4 separate regions of the Homo sapiens genome follow, and regions 1, 3 and 4 are each linked to region 2. Evidence: promoter capture Hi-C in human tissues and cell types (Jung and others, 2019). All regions are on one chromosome and are shown on one strand. Each heading gives the region's core, a stretch centred on a gene start or on the middle of the fragment in contact. The rest is flanking DNA. Distances are from core to core; before and after follow the strand shown.

Region 1 (3,122 bases), core at 417-2,916, 470 kb before region 2:
TCACATAAATAATGAAATCTGAGTGTGAAAGGAAAGGGAGCTATTTCTATGAAAGTGAATGTAAGAAAGACTTGGGGAAGATGACTTGCAAAAGAAAATCATTGCAATGTGAGCAATACAAAAAAAAAGACTGAGAAAAATCATTAAGATGAAGGATCCTGTGCTCAGATTGAGGCACATGTGTTTTTACGGTCTCACTCCACTTTAAAGAAACTTAAGACTAAAAATCAAAGCTGCAGAATGACTGTAGTGATGCAAAGAAAACAATGGGGAACTCCAGTTTGAAGAGCCCAACTCAAAGGAAAAATCTCTCACTCTGCATCCAAAGATGATCAAACGAATGTATGCTTATAGGTTAAAACACCATATTTACATACATATTTATATTTTTGCATGTTTTCCTGCATTTACCAACTTTTCTACTAACCAACTAATTACCAGACCTGATTTAGTCAGGTAAGGGGGTTTCTACCATGCCTCTGAAGACCCCTAAAAGTATGCTTTGTGCTTAAAGAAATCAGCTACTGGAATAGTCACTGCAAATTGGTTTGTTTTATTACCAAAGGCAACACTGAAAATGATATCCTCTTAAGGTCAATTCTAGGAAGCCAAGGGAAGACCACACTCAGCCAACAATTTTGGGGTTCCAGGAGCAGGGACAACAGGGCAGCAGCTGTGAAAGCTTACACATCAGTGTAAGCTCCGTCTCTCCTATTTCCTCAAAGAGTCATTTTTTTTTTCATTTTATGCTAGAAAAATCCTTGGACAAAGGTGCCAAGGTACCCTGGACTAGCTCTAGTCTCCCTCTAACTATACTTAAGATCTCAGGCCAGTCTTCTAGCTTCCGCCTGTGTCAAATGCTTGGTTTGGGCTAGATGTTGGGTCAGTCAGTCCTGCAAAGTTGGCCCAGCCTTTCCTTTCTGTGTGCATGGGGGTGGGAGTGGGGTGCCTCTCTCCCTTTTTGGCCTCTTATGGACCCTCCCCACCTAATCACTGAGGTGTAAGCTTTCACAGCTGCTGCCCTGTTGTCCCTGCTCCTGGAACCCCAAAATGGTTGGCTGAGTGTGGTCTTCCCTTGGCCAGACTCCATCAGAGTCCATAGAAGGCTGACTCCAGGGACCACTGTCCCTCTCCAGCTGTCCCTGCCCCCCACCCAAGATGCTAAGTAGGCTGTAACATCTCCTTGTTATCCACAATTTGCTATTTTTTGTCATTACTGGTTACAAATTCTGTGTCTGATTAGAAATGATAGCATGAAATCTCAAGCTCAGTACTTGTTCTATTAAATTCTTTCATTAATAGTGCTGAGAAGTGAATCCATTATTAAAGTAATGGGGGTTAAGATGGGGGAAAAATAACTTTATTATTTTTTAAATCAAATGCAGTATGCTTAGTCTTCATTCTACTACCATTTACCACTCTGAACTTTGGGTCAGGTAGCAAATAGTTAAGAGCCTGGGCTCTTAAAACAGATGGCTTAGATCTGAACCCTTCCCCAACCAGTTCCTAGCTGTGTGACCTAGAGTTACTTAAGTTCCTTGTGCTGCCTCAGTTTTCTCCTCTGTATAGTGGGGCTAATAACAGTACCTACTTCACAGGGTTTTGAGAGATTAAATGAGATAAAGTGCTTAGTACTGTGTAAAACACACAGTTGTCCAATAAGCAACAATTATTATTATTATTTTTGAGAGGGGGTCTCACTCTGTCACCCAGGTTAGAGTGCAGGGGCATGATCTCAGCTCACTGCAACCTCTGTCTCCCAGGTTCAAGTGATCCTTCTACCTCAGCCTCCCAAATAGTTGGGACTACAGGTGCGTGCCACCATGTCCAGCTAATTTTTTGTATTTTTCGTAGAGATGGGGTTTCACCATATTGCCCAGGCCTGGTCTCTAACTCCTGAGCTCAAGCAATCCACCTGCCCTTAGCTCCCAAAGTGCTGGGATTACAGGCATGAGTCACTGCACCCGACCAACAATTATTAATATTACTATTGGCATCACGTAAAGAGAAAAGCGGAGAAATAAAATAGTGATGGAAAAGAAAAAGCAGGAATTAAAGAAGATGGATCTGGAATGGTAGAAAAAGTGGAATGACAACTTTTCACCTTCCTTAACTCAAGTTCTGAAAAGAAGATACCTGAAACAGCACTGAAAGAGTAATTTTCTAAATCCCTAAGACATATTTTTTTTTTTTTTTGCAATTTGAAACTATTTAAATACATAATTAATAGGCTTCTAAAACTGATCCCTCACTTTTTCAATTACTATTTTTAGTAGCCACAAGTAGGGGCCATTATGTGTTCAAAAGCATCTGTGGACTTTCACAAAATCAAATAAAAGCAAAGAAAGTAATAACATCAAAGGCATATGTACAAAGGGGGGAAAACCTTTCTAATTTGCATGAGAGAATATTTACCACAAAAGCCAGCTCTTCTTAGCTAGAAAGAACTGTAAATATCAGATGCAGTCTATAGCATATCTTTGACTTTTACCTTAGGGAAGTCTGACATTTAAGTTTGCTGGTCCAAGCAGAGACCAAACATGGGCAGATAATGCCATGTCAAGCAATAGTGCTACTTGTTACCTAAGTTCACCTGGGCACTAAAAAGCACATGCGGGCCTAAGACAGTTTTCCTGAATCCAATGAGCAAACTGTAGAAGAAGAGGCCTAATAATGAAGCCCAATCTATTCTCTAATGTCGTTCCTCAAATGGCTGTTGTACAGCATGCCCATCAGACAGGGGAGGAGACATTACAGTGTTTTGTGCATGTATGGCTCTGCAGGCCCCCTTGTTATTTGAAGCAATTTTTTAAAAGTCTTAGGAATCAAGAACATTAAAGCGAATCACCTTGTGGTGTACCATGGACATCGCATATCAGTTTAACACCAATGGGATCCCCATCCCTTGCGAGGTTCTCCTACTCCAAGTTCTGTGCTGAGGGAGAAAAGTGGTGATATGCTCTGGCTCTGTGTCCCCACCCAAATCTTACCTCGAATTGTAATAATCCCCATGTGTCAAGGGCAGTACCAGGTGGAAATAATTGAATCATAGGGGTGGTTCCCTCATTCTGTTCTCATGATAGTGAGTGAGTTCTCATGAGATCTGATGATTTTATAAGGGG
Region 2 (3,215 bases), core at 42-2,541:
TTGGTTTTTTCTTTGTTTTTTGAGACAGAGTCTCACTATCACCCAGGCAGGAGTGCAGTGGCGATATCTTGGCTCACTGCAACCTCTGCCTCCTGGGTTTAAGGGATTCTCCTGCCTCAGCCTTCGGAGTAGCTGGGACTACAGGCGTAAGCCACCACACCCGGCTAATTTTTGTATTTTTAGTAGAGATGGGGTTTCACCATGTTGGCCAGCCTGGTCTCGAACTCCTGACCGCAGGTGATCCGCCTGCCTCGTCCTCCCAAAGTGTTGGGATTACAGGCGTGAGCCAACGCGCCCAGCCTAGACTAGCAATTTCTCAAAGGGTGGTCTGCAGACTCCTGCATCAGAATCACTGGCAGTGTGTGTTAAAAATTCAGATTTCCTGACGGTGTCCATGACCGAAGGAATCAACACCTTCGGCCGGGCGTGGTGGCTCACGCCTGTAATCCCAGCACTTTGGGAGGCCGAGGTGGGCGGAACACCTGAGGTCAGGAGTTCGAGACCAGCCTGGCCAACATGGTGAAACTCCATCTCTACTAAAAATACAAAAATTAGCCAGGCGTGGTGGCGGTCGTCTGTAATCCCAGCTACTCGGGAGGCTGAGGCAGGAGAATCCCTTGAACCTGGGAGGCGGAGGTTGCAGTGAGCCGAGATAGTGCCACTGCACACCAGCCTGGACGGCAGAGCAAGACTCCATCTCAAAAAAAAAAAAAGCACCTCCAAGTGATTCTGTTGCAGGGGATCTGTGGATGATGCAGATTTTTTTTTTGTTTTTAATTTTTTATAGAGAAAGGGTCTCCCTATGTTCCCCAGACTAGTCTCGAACTCCCGGGCTCAAGCGATCCTCCCACTTCGGCCTCCCAAAGTGCCGGGATTACTGGCATGAACCACCACACCTGGCCCAGAATTTCGGATTGTTCTTATGCAGACGAAAGCATTAGGACTCATATCTAGGTTACCGGAATTGTTGAAAGCCAACAGCACACGGCATTAGCCAACTTCAGCCCTGCTCAACAGCCTCTATCCAAATCAGCTCCCGGAGCCGCTTAGCAGCCTGCAGCCGCTGAACAGAACTGAGCACGCGCAATATTTAATCCCCACGGGCGCTGGGTGGGGCTCCCTAGGACCCCGCCCCCTACCAACCTGCGGAGCCAGGGGGCGGGGCTCTCCAAAGTAATTCCGGCTTCTCCCGGCAGCGGCCCAAATCCCCGCCCCCAGCTCTCGGACCAATCAAACGGCAGATTGCTGAAACAAAGGACCAATGCCCAGGGCGGTCCTTAATTCCTCCCTGCAGTTTGAAACTGTCAGGTTGCCGTCTAGGTAGCGGTTGTGCTTGCTGAGGCTGCACTTGCTGACACTGCAGCTGCGACGCGGCTAAGAGGCGCAGAGCGAGGAGTCGGGATTTGGTCGCGAGCGGCGACGGTGGGTAGCAGCGCTCCGGGCAGATCCTGCGTCCCTGCATCCCTGGCGAAAGTAGTGGAGGGAGATTTAAAGTTCCTTGGCGCGTGTTTCCTCCCCCTGGGCTCTTCCCCAGACCGCGAGTGATTCAGCTGTTGTGCCGGAAGGTCCCAAAGTTTCCCCTCCGAGGCGTGCAGGAAGAGGAAGTGAGCAGGAGTGAGGGATGCTGAGCGATTACTGTCATCAGAGGTTCCGGTCACTTAAAACGTTGAGAAAAAATAACCATGTATAAAGCTCTGTTGTGCTTAAGTAAGATTTTTCTTAAAACAGGCTGGGTCGGAAGGTGATGGAAGAAAACTTATGGCCTTTTGCTTACTGCAATGGCTTTTCTCCTCTGCTTCTAGTCCCTGCTTTGGGGAGGGGCTGGCGCGCCCCTTTCCTTGAGTGCAGCTAGGCCTGGTGAAAGGCACAGGCGACATCACCCTGCTGCTAGTTTGCATGTTAATTCGCTCTTCCTTTGCCTCTTGGGGGTTCCATTTGAATTCCCAGACCCCTGTTTTGCTGTCAGCCAGATAATTACCAAGATGTTATTTTATGTTTCTGGCAACAGAGAAGCACACAAAAGTTTTGATCTTGTTTTCTGATACCTTGGATTAGAGACTACTGAAAATGTAGTGAACTAATGTGCGTCCGCCACCCATTAAAGCAGTTTTCATTTTTCTCCTTTGTTTCTGAACCTAGAAACAGTAAGGAAAATGCTACTGTTCTAGAGTTTCAAATAACTCATACCTTGTTGACATAAAGCAGGGCAGATGGAAGATAGCATATTTTCCAAGAGTGCGGTGGGTTTTTTTGTGTCTGCAGTGTGTCCATATTAAGAAACAATTTTTGAGATCTGACCATACTTACTAGCTCATTTTTAAATAATCAGCACCCCCCCCCCCCCACCCCTGTTACCTGCCTGGTCTCAAATCCTGAAGGAAGAAGTGAATAAAAATATAAATGGACCAAGTTATCACAGTGGTAGATTTGAAGTCAGTGAAGCAGCCATTCCTTGCTGCAGATACATGCACTTATTTTATCCTCCCTAATTGGCTTAACTAAAGACAGTCATGCTGAGATTTAGTTTACTTAACATGTGTATGCACAGTGATACTCACTGGAAAAAGTTGAACTTTCCTTTCCACAATTTAGTTCCAGCCTGTGTTTCCATTCTATTTTTGCACTTTTCCCTGTATCTTCCTTTTCTATTTCAATTTCCTCATCTCTCATTTATTTTTCAGCCCACTGTGACTAAGACCTGTAATTGTTTTACTTTCCAGTGAAATTGTTCAAGCAAACGTCTCAGCAACCTCCTAATCTCCAAATTCTATCCAATCCTCATGGTTCTTTGGCATCTAATTCTATTTTCTTCTCAAAGTTGTGATATTGCTTCCATAGTTCTAATGTTCTGACTTCCTTTGCTGACTCCTCTTCTTTGCTGACTGTTCTTCTCTTGCCCTTTAGATGTTAGTGGTTCTGGCTTTAACCCTCTTCTCATTCACAGTCGTAGTCCTTAACTCTATTAGGGCTATGGTCCCCTCTGAACGCATATTTAAAGCGAAAGATCTTCTTTCTAGAAAAATACACATTCACATTTATGATAAAAATATTGCATACGAGTCGGGTATAGGGACCTGATATGGTTAGGTCTTGTGTCCCCACTCAAATCCCATCTTCAATTGTAATCTCCACATGTAGGGGAAGGGAAGTGATTGGATTATAAGGGCGATTTCCCCCGTGCTGTTCTCATGATAGTGAATTCTCACGAGATCTGA
Region 3 (3,076 bases), core at 106-2,605, 380 kb before region 2:
AAACTGATTTGTTAATTAATAAGAGGCATATCAATGAAATTCTACTACTTCAGTTAATAATAATGTATCAGTAATGGCTCATCAATTGTGACAAATCTACTACATGGATGCAAGAACTGGGACCTCATGAGGGTGGAGTAACTGGGAACTCTGTACTTTATTTTCAATTTTTCTATAAACCACTCAAAAATATAAAGTCTGTTAATTTAAAAGCCTCTGAAACTATATATTTCATTTTAAACAAAAATTAAAATGGAGTATAGACCCAATTATAAAATGTAAAACTATAAAATCTCTAGAAAAAAAACATTGAAAGAAATCTATATAACCTTGGGCTTTTTGGTGAGATTTTTAGATACCACACAAACAGCATGATCCATGAAAGGAAAAAAAAGAGAAAAATTGGACTTTATTAAAATTTAAAACTCTTTTTCATCAAAAGACACTGTCAATAGTATAAAAAGACAAGCCACACTAGGAGGAAATATTTGCAAACACATATCTGATTAAATACATATCTGGTATCCAAAATACACAAAGAACTCTTAAAATTCAACAATAAGAAAGCAAGCAACCCAATTGAAAAATGGCAAAATATATAAACAGACACTGCATCAGAGAAGATATACAGAAGGTGTGGTATGCAGAAAAATGGTTCCCCAAAGATATATTCACTTCTTGATCCCCAGAACCTGTGAATACTACATTACATAGCAAAACATGCACAAGGATGTTCATAGATACTTTATTGATAATAGCTCCAATGTGGAAACAACTCAAACATCTACCAACAGATAAACAGAGAAACAAATTGTGGTATATTCATATAATGTAATACTATGCATTCAGCAATGACAAAGAATTGACTATTGATACACAAAAAAACATGAATCTTTTCAAAAATACGGTGTTAAAAAAAAGAAAACAGACACAAGAGTACATACTGTATGATTCCTTTTATTTGAATTTCAAGTATAAGCAAAACCAATCTTTGGTGATAAAAATTAGGACAGTGTCTCTGGGAAAGGAGGCAATGAATGAAAAGGGATACAGGGAACTTTCTAAGGTAATGGAGATATGCTTTTGGCTACACAGATGTATACACCTGTCAAACTGATCCAGCTATATATTTATAATCTATGTTTTCTGTGGAAAAAAATTATACCATCATGAATTTAATTGATAAAACAAAATCATTTCTCAGGAGACTCACAGTTTCTTATAGTGCTGAAACTCCAAAGACATTTTATTTATTTATTTATTTACTTGTTTGTTTCTTTATTTACAGAGTCTCACCATTTTGCCCAGGCTGGTCTTGAACTCCTAAGCTCAAGCAATCCTGTTTAAACCTCCCAAGTAGCAGGGACTACAGGTGTGTGCTACTGCATCCAGCTCCAAAAACATTTCTTGAATAGACAGTAATGAATAGGGCAACGGGTAATATAATGGGCAACATCCTTAAAATAAATATGGGAAGTTCCTTAAAACTGTTCCTTGGAATAGTGATGTCAAAGGGAAAGACATTAGAAGCAAGTCTACAAGGGGGAAAATAATTTGATAAGAGCCCAGTGTTCTCCAATGAGTTTCTTGGCCTTGTGATAAGAATTCAGAATATTTAGTACAGAGAGAGGGATGAATGCAATGTGCTTTATCCAGATCACTGCGGCTCAGAAGCCAGCTGATAGAGGAGAAATTTGAACAGTCTGGAAGTCAGTTTGTTGCATTCCGATTCACTGGAATGAGTTCATATTTGGAGGATAAGAAGAATAAGGCCCAGGTCTAAAGGACCGTGCAAGAACAGTTTTGTGAAATTCTGGACAAGGCATGGAGGTCAAATGATAGAATTGCTCATGAGGGGCTTAGAATTTGGTCACAAGCGAAGCTGCTTTGCAGGGCCAATGGCTAAGTGTGCAATTAATTAGGGGCTCTTTTCTCTGCCTCTACCTTGTGGACTGGAAGTTCTGGGCACCCAAACAACATTCTGGACACAGTCACACCACTCGCATGTCCACTGGCAGAAGCAAGACTCTGCCAAGCAGCTTCTCAGACCTTGCGCAGGGAACAATGGAATTCAGAGCAGGAGAGGGAGAACTTGATAAGCACCTCCAAAGGACTGAAGTCAGGATAGTGGGAGATAGTTATGACTGGAAGGAGCATGCAAGGGACCTCTGGGGCATTAGAAATATTCTTTCTGATTTTCGATGGGTGCTCTATAAAGAGACATGTTCAGTTTGTGAAAAGGCAGCTATACCCTTATTAAATATGCACTTTTCTTTCTATATAATATACCTTAATAAAAAAGGTTTAAAAATAATTTAAAATGCTTCCAGCCCCTATGTGTCCAGTGCCAGGAGTTACAAATATCTCAGTGGCTTGGCCTCTTCCTCAAGGTATAAAAGTCTAGTAGGAAAATACACATAGAGCAGCCACCATGACATAATATGAGACGCACTCCACAGCTGGAGCTGCAAGGGGCCTAGGAGAGACTGAGAAAGAGCTGTGGAGTGTCATGAAAAGGGACCTTCGAGCTGAGGATTGAAGGATGATTAGGAGACTTTTCCACAGATAAATATGTGTATGGCGGGAGTTGGGGAAGAAGAGATGGTAGGAGGGAGAACATTCCCAGCCCACAGCAAGAGAAGATAAAAAAATGCCAATCTCCCATCCCGTCAAATACACAGTCGAGTAGAGTGAAAAATGTGCCTAAAAGCAAAATATTCCAAGTATTAATACAGGCTTTTGACAGCTATTGGACAAATAAGATTTATTGAGGATGGGGGTGGAGGAATGGGGGTCGATCCTCAGCTCTAGTGACCTAAGTCAGCAATGAGCAGCCCCTGCTCAAAGGTCACTGTATTGAGTGTTTATAGCCATGTTCCTTTTTCATTCAAAATGAAAATAGTTGTATTGAGTACCAAAGCAATTTACGTTCTCACAACTTAGATGACCTCACCTACATTATTGCCTGGAAAAAGATCCATGAGAAAAACTGGCACCACTTTTTTAGCCACTAGAACACTAATACTTACACATGCTTGAAAAACAGCATTGCAGGTGTATATTGAAATTAATATTT
Region 4 (3,077 bases), core at 245-2,744, 300 kb after region 2:
TAGATGTCTGGCTGATACTGTAATCATCTCGGGGAGCTTTAAAAAAGAAATAATTGTATCATACCCTTCACCATAGTCTCACTAAACCAGAATATTCAGGGGTTGAGGGGAGAGAGAGAGATTAACGTTTTGTTCTTTAAAAGTTCCTTGATAGGTAGATAATCAAAAGTTCCTTGATATGTGGATACCCTCTCTAGTAGAAGTATGAGCTAGCATTATAAACAAGCCTTCTGAAGGCAGAAGGAAAGCACAGCAGAAAGGGGAAAACAAATATTGTACAGAAGGCTTTTGAGTTTTCCAAGAAAACAACTCCTTTAAATTGTGAGAATAGGTCAAATCTAGAGCAAATGAAATATCTCCTGCTTCTGTAGAAAAGAATGCATGAAGGTAGAGTTGAAGAGTGAGTAACAAACTGTTTTAACTTTTCATTGATATGATGCAAAAAAGTAGGGAAATTTGAAAAGGCCCCGGGAAGTAAGGATCTCAAAAGGTACTTGAAGGTCATCTTTATGGGATTATGCCAGGGGACTAATTTAGGAATAGTCGTATTATAACTTCAACTGATGGTCAGCATGATTTTTTATCTGAGTATGGTTTAAAAATAATGTATCTAAAGACATTGCACAGCATATTTATTGAGCATATGAGATCTTACTCATCTTTGTATTTTCACTGGTAATCAAGATATGCTCATATTGAAGTCTGTAGGAATGATGGAAGTGGAAAAGAAAAAGAATTGAATATTGAGATCACAGCCAGGTAGAAATGAATACAGGGTATTAATAGATAATAGTTTATGATTTGTAAGAGTTGTTATAGATGATTGACAACATTTTCAAGTGGTTATAAAAAAATGAAATAGTCCAGTAATTAGAAAATGGCAGTACAGAAGATTTTCCATGGTGATTCCTACCATTTAATCAAAGAAGGGAAATAAGGTATCGAATTGGGCTCTGCATCCATAAAAAAGACAGCTAAGATAGATGAGATGTTCCTTATAGAGCCACGGTGCTCCTGATGTAAAAAGATACATGCAGTAAGTAAGACATTAGTTTAAAATGTAGATTCCTTCTTTATAAAGGGAGTTCCTGAAAAGATAAAGGAGCCATGTAGGCTGGGTGCAGTGGCTTACACCTGTAATCCCAGCATTTTGAGAGGCAGAGGTGGGCAGATTGCTTGAGCTCAGGAGTTTGAAACCGGCCTGGGCAACATGGCAAAACCTCATCTCTACAAAAATTAGCTGGGCTGGTGGTGTGCACCTGTGTTCCCAGCTGCTCAAGGGGCTGAGTAGGATTGCTTGAGCCTGGGAGGTGGAGGTTGCAGTGAGCTGAGATTGTGCCACTGCACTCCAGGCTGGGCAACAGAGCCAGACCCTGTCTCACAAACAAGAAGAAGAAGAAGCCACAAAAAGCTTGATAAAAGCAGCAAATAATGTTGGGAACTAAGATGCAGGAATTTGCATTATGAGTGGAATGCGTAGTACAGAGAATTAAAGCATGTGGCGTAGTAGAAAAAGGGATAGCACATAGAAGAAAGAGGTATGTTAAAGTAGAACAAGAGAGATTCTGTTTTTGTCTGGAATTAGAGAAAAGGGATGCCTGGATACAGATACAGCCTGGGATGAATGAAAATTGATATCATGGTCAGGAGATTGAGACCGGATTCCTGGCTAACATGGTCAAACCCCGTCTCTACTAAAAATACAAAAAATTAGCCAGGCATGGTGGCAGGCGCCTGTAGTCCCAGCTACTCGGGAGGCTGAGGCAGGAGAATGGTGTGAACCCGGGAGGTGGAGCTTGCAGTGAGCCGAGATCGCGCCACTGCACTCCAGCCTGGGCGACAGAGCAAGACTCCGCCTCAAAAAAAAAAAAAACAGTCGATATCATATCTGCAAGTCATTATATTTTCCTTGCACATCAGAAATAGTATATATAAGAACTCTCGCCTGGGTGTGGTCACTCACACCTGTAATCCCAGCACATTGGGAGGCCGAGGTGGGCGGATCATGAGGCCAGGAGTTTCGAAACCAGCCTGGCCAACATAGTGAAACCCCTTCTCTACTAAAAATACAAAAATATTAGCTGGCTGTGGTGGCACGCACCTGTAGTCCCAGCTACTTGGGAGGCTGAGGTGGAAGAATTGCTTGAACCTAGGAGGCAGAGGTTGCAGTGAGCCGAGACCATGCCATTGCACTCCAGCCTGGGTGACAGAGTGAGACTCCATCTACAAAAAAAAAAAAAAGAACAACTCTTAGAGGCAAGCTAAGGTGTCTTCTGCATAGAAGGCACCCTTATAGTCCTGTTCAGCCCTTCTGGTCCTCTTACAGAGTGGAAATGGCCCCACGGAAGGGAGCAAGAGATAGGAAGACTACAGGGTGAAATAATTCATAACTCAGTAACCTTCCCTTACACAAATGAGAGTGAATATGGTTTAAAAATAATGTATCTAAAGACATTCCACATATTTGGGTGGCAAAAATAAATAGATGGCTGATACTGTAATCATCTCGGGGAGCTTTAAAAAGAAATAATTGTATCATACCCTTCTCCATAGTCTCACTAAATGAGAATATTCAGGGGTTGAGGGGAGAGAGAGAGATTAAGATTTTGTTCTTTAAAAGTTCCTTGATAGGTAGATATTTATTGAGCATACCTTGATTACCAGTGAAAATACAAAGATGAGTAAGACTTCATACTCAGAATCAGAATCCAGAGTAAAATGACTCAGTTGAACATAAGAATAGACATTAATTTCTATTTCTTTTCATCCTAATTTCCTTAAATATATTTTATTTAGTGGTAGAAGATGATGAAGATGACTTTCCTACAACGCGTTCTGATGGTGACTTCTTGCATAGTACCAACGGCAATAAAGAAAAGTGTAAGTAATACATTTTTCCCCTCAGCTGGATAAAATATACTTTCAGAAGTTATGTAACAACTCACAAGAAATAATTACCTGATTAATTTTTTAAAAAGCAGTAGAACTGGTGGAATCCAAGTGAAAATATCTTCCAAGGCATGCAGGTAAAAATCACATTCTGACATTATGTAATAATGGTAACTTTTACATAAGGA

Evidence for each region. Contacts are between HindIII fragments. The study calls those that stand out against the background at their distance.
Region 1: a contact is called between a fragment that was not itself captured here and the fragment with the promoter of POC5 in region 2, in 1 of the 25 tissues and cell types used here (H1 embryonic stem cells).
Region 3: a fragment that was not itself captured here is called in contact with the fragment with the promoter of POC5 in region 2 in 2 of the 25 tissues and cell types used here (mesendoderm cells and thymus).
Region 4: a fragment that was not itself captured here is called in contact with the fragment with the promoter of POC5 in region 2 in 2 of the 25 tissues and cell types used here (bladder and thymus).

Annotation. Positions count from the first base shown.
Region 1 is chr5:76,186,825-76,189,946 of GRCh38, reverse strand. The region is part of intron 2 of SV2C (synaptic vesicle glycoprotein 2C); the gene reads right to left. Among named protein-coding and RNA genes, the nearest start is that of SV2C-AS1, 100 kb to the right of the region's middle. The HindIII fragment of the contact is 3,512 bases long and covers 1-3,122 here.
Region 2 is chr5:75,715,513-75,718,727 of GRCh38, reverse strand. POC5 (POC5 centriolar protein) reads left to right here and starts at 1,291. Exons shown (of 12, transcript NM_001099271.2): 1 at 1,291-1,422. It overlaps LOC441087 (a long non-coding RNA gene), which reads right to left and starts at 1,296. Exons shown (of 3, transcript NR_149046.1): 1 at 1,144-1,296. RefSeq lists an enhancer at 1,586-1,895. The HindIII fragment of the contact is 10,988 bases long and covers 1-3,215 here.
Region 3 is chr5:76,092,284-76,095,359 of GRCh38, reverse strand. The region is part of intron 1 of SV2C (synaptic vesicle glycoprotein 2C); the gene reads right to left. Among named protein-coding and RNA genes, the nearest start is that of SV2C-AS1, 10 kb to the right of the region's middle. The HindIII fragment of the contact is 6,115 bases long and covers 1-3,076 here.
Region 4 is chr5:75,419,144-75,422,220 of GRCh38, reverse strand. CERT1 (ceramide transporter 1) reads left to right here. Exons shown (of 17, transcript NM_001379029.1): 6 at 2,797-2,880. Among named protein-coding and RNA genes, the nearest start is that of HMGCR, 83 kb to the right of the region's middle. The HindIII fragment of the contact is 7,507 bases long and covers 1-3,077 here.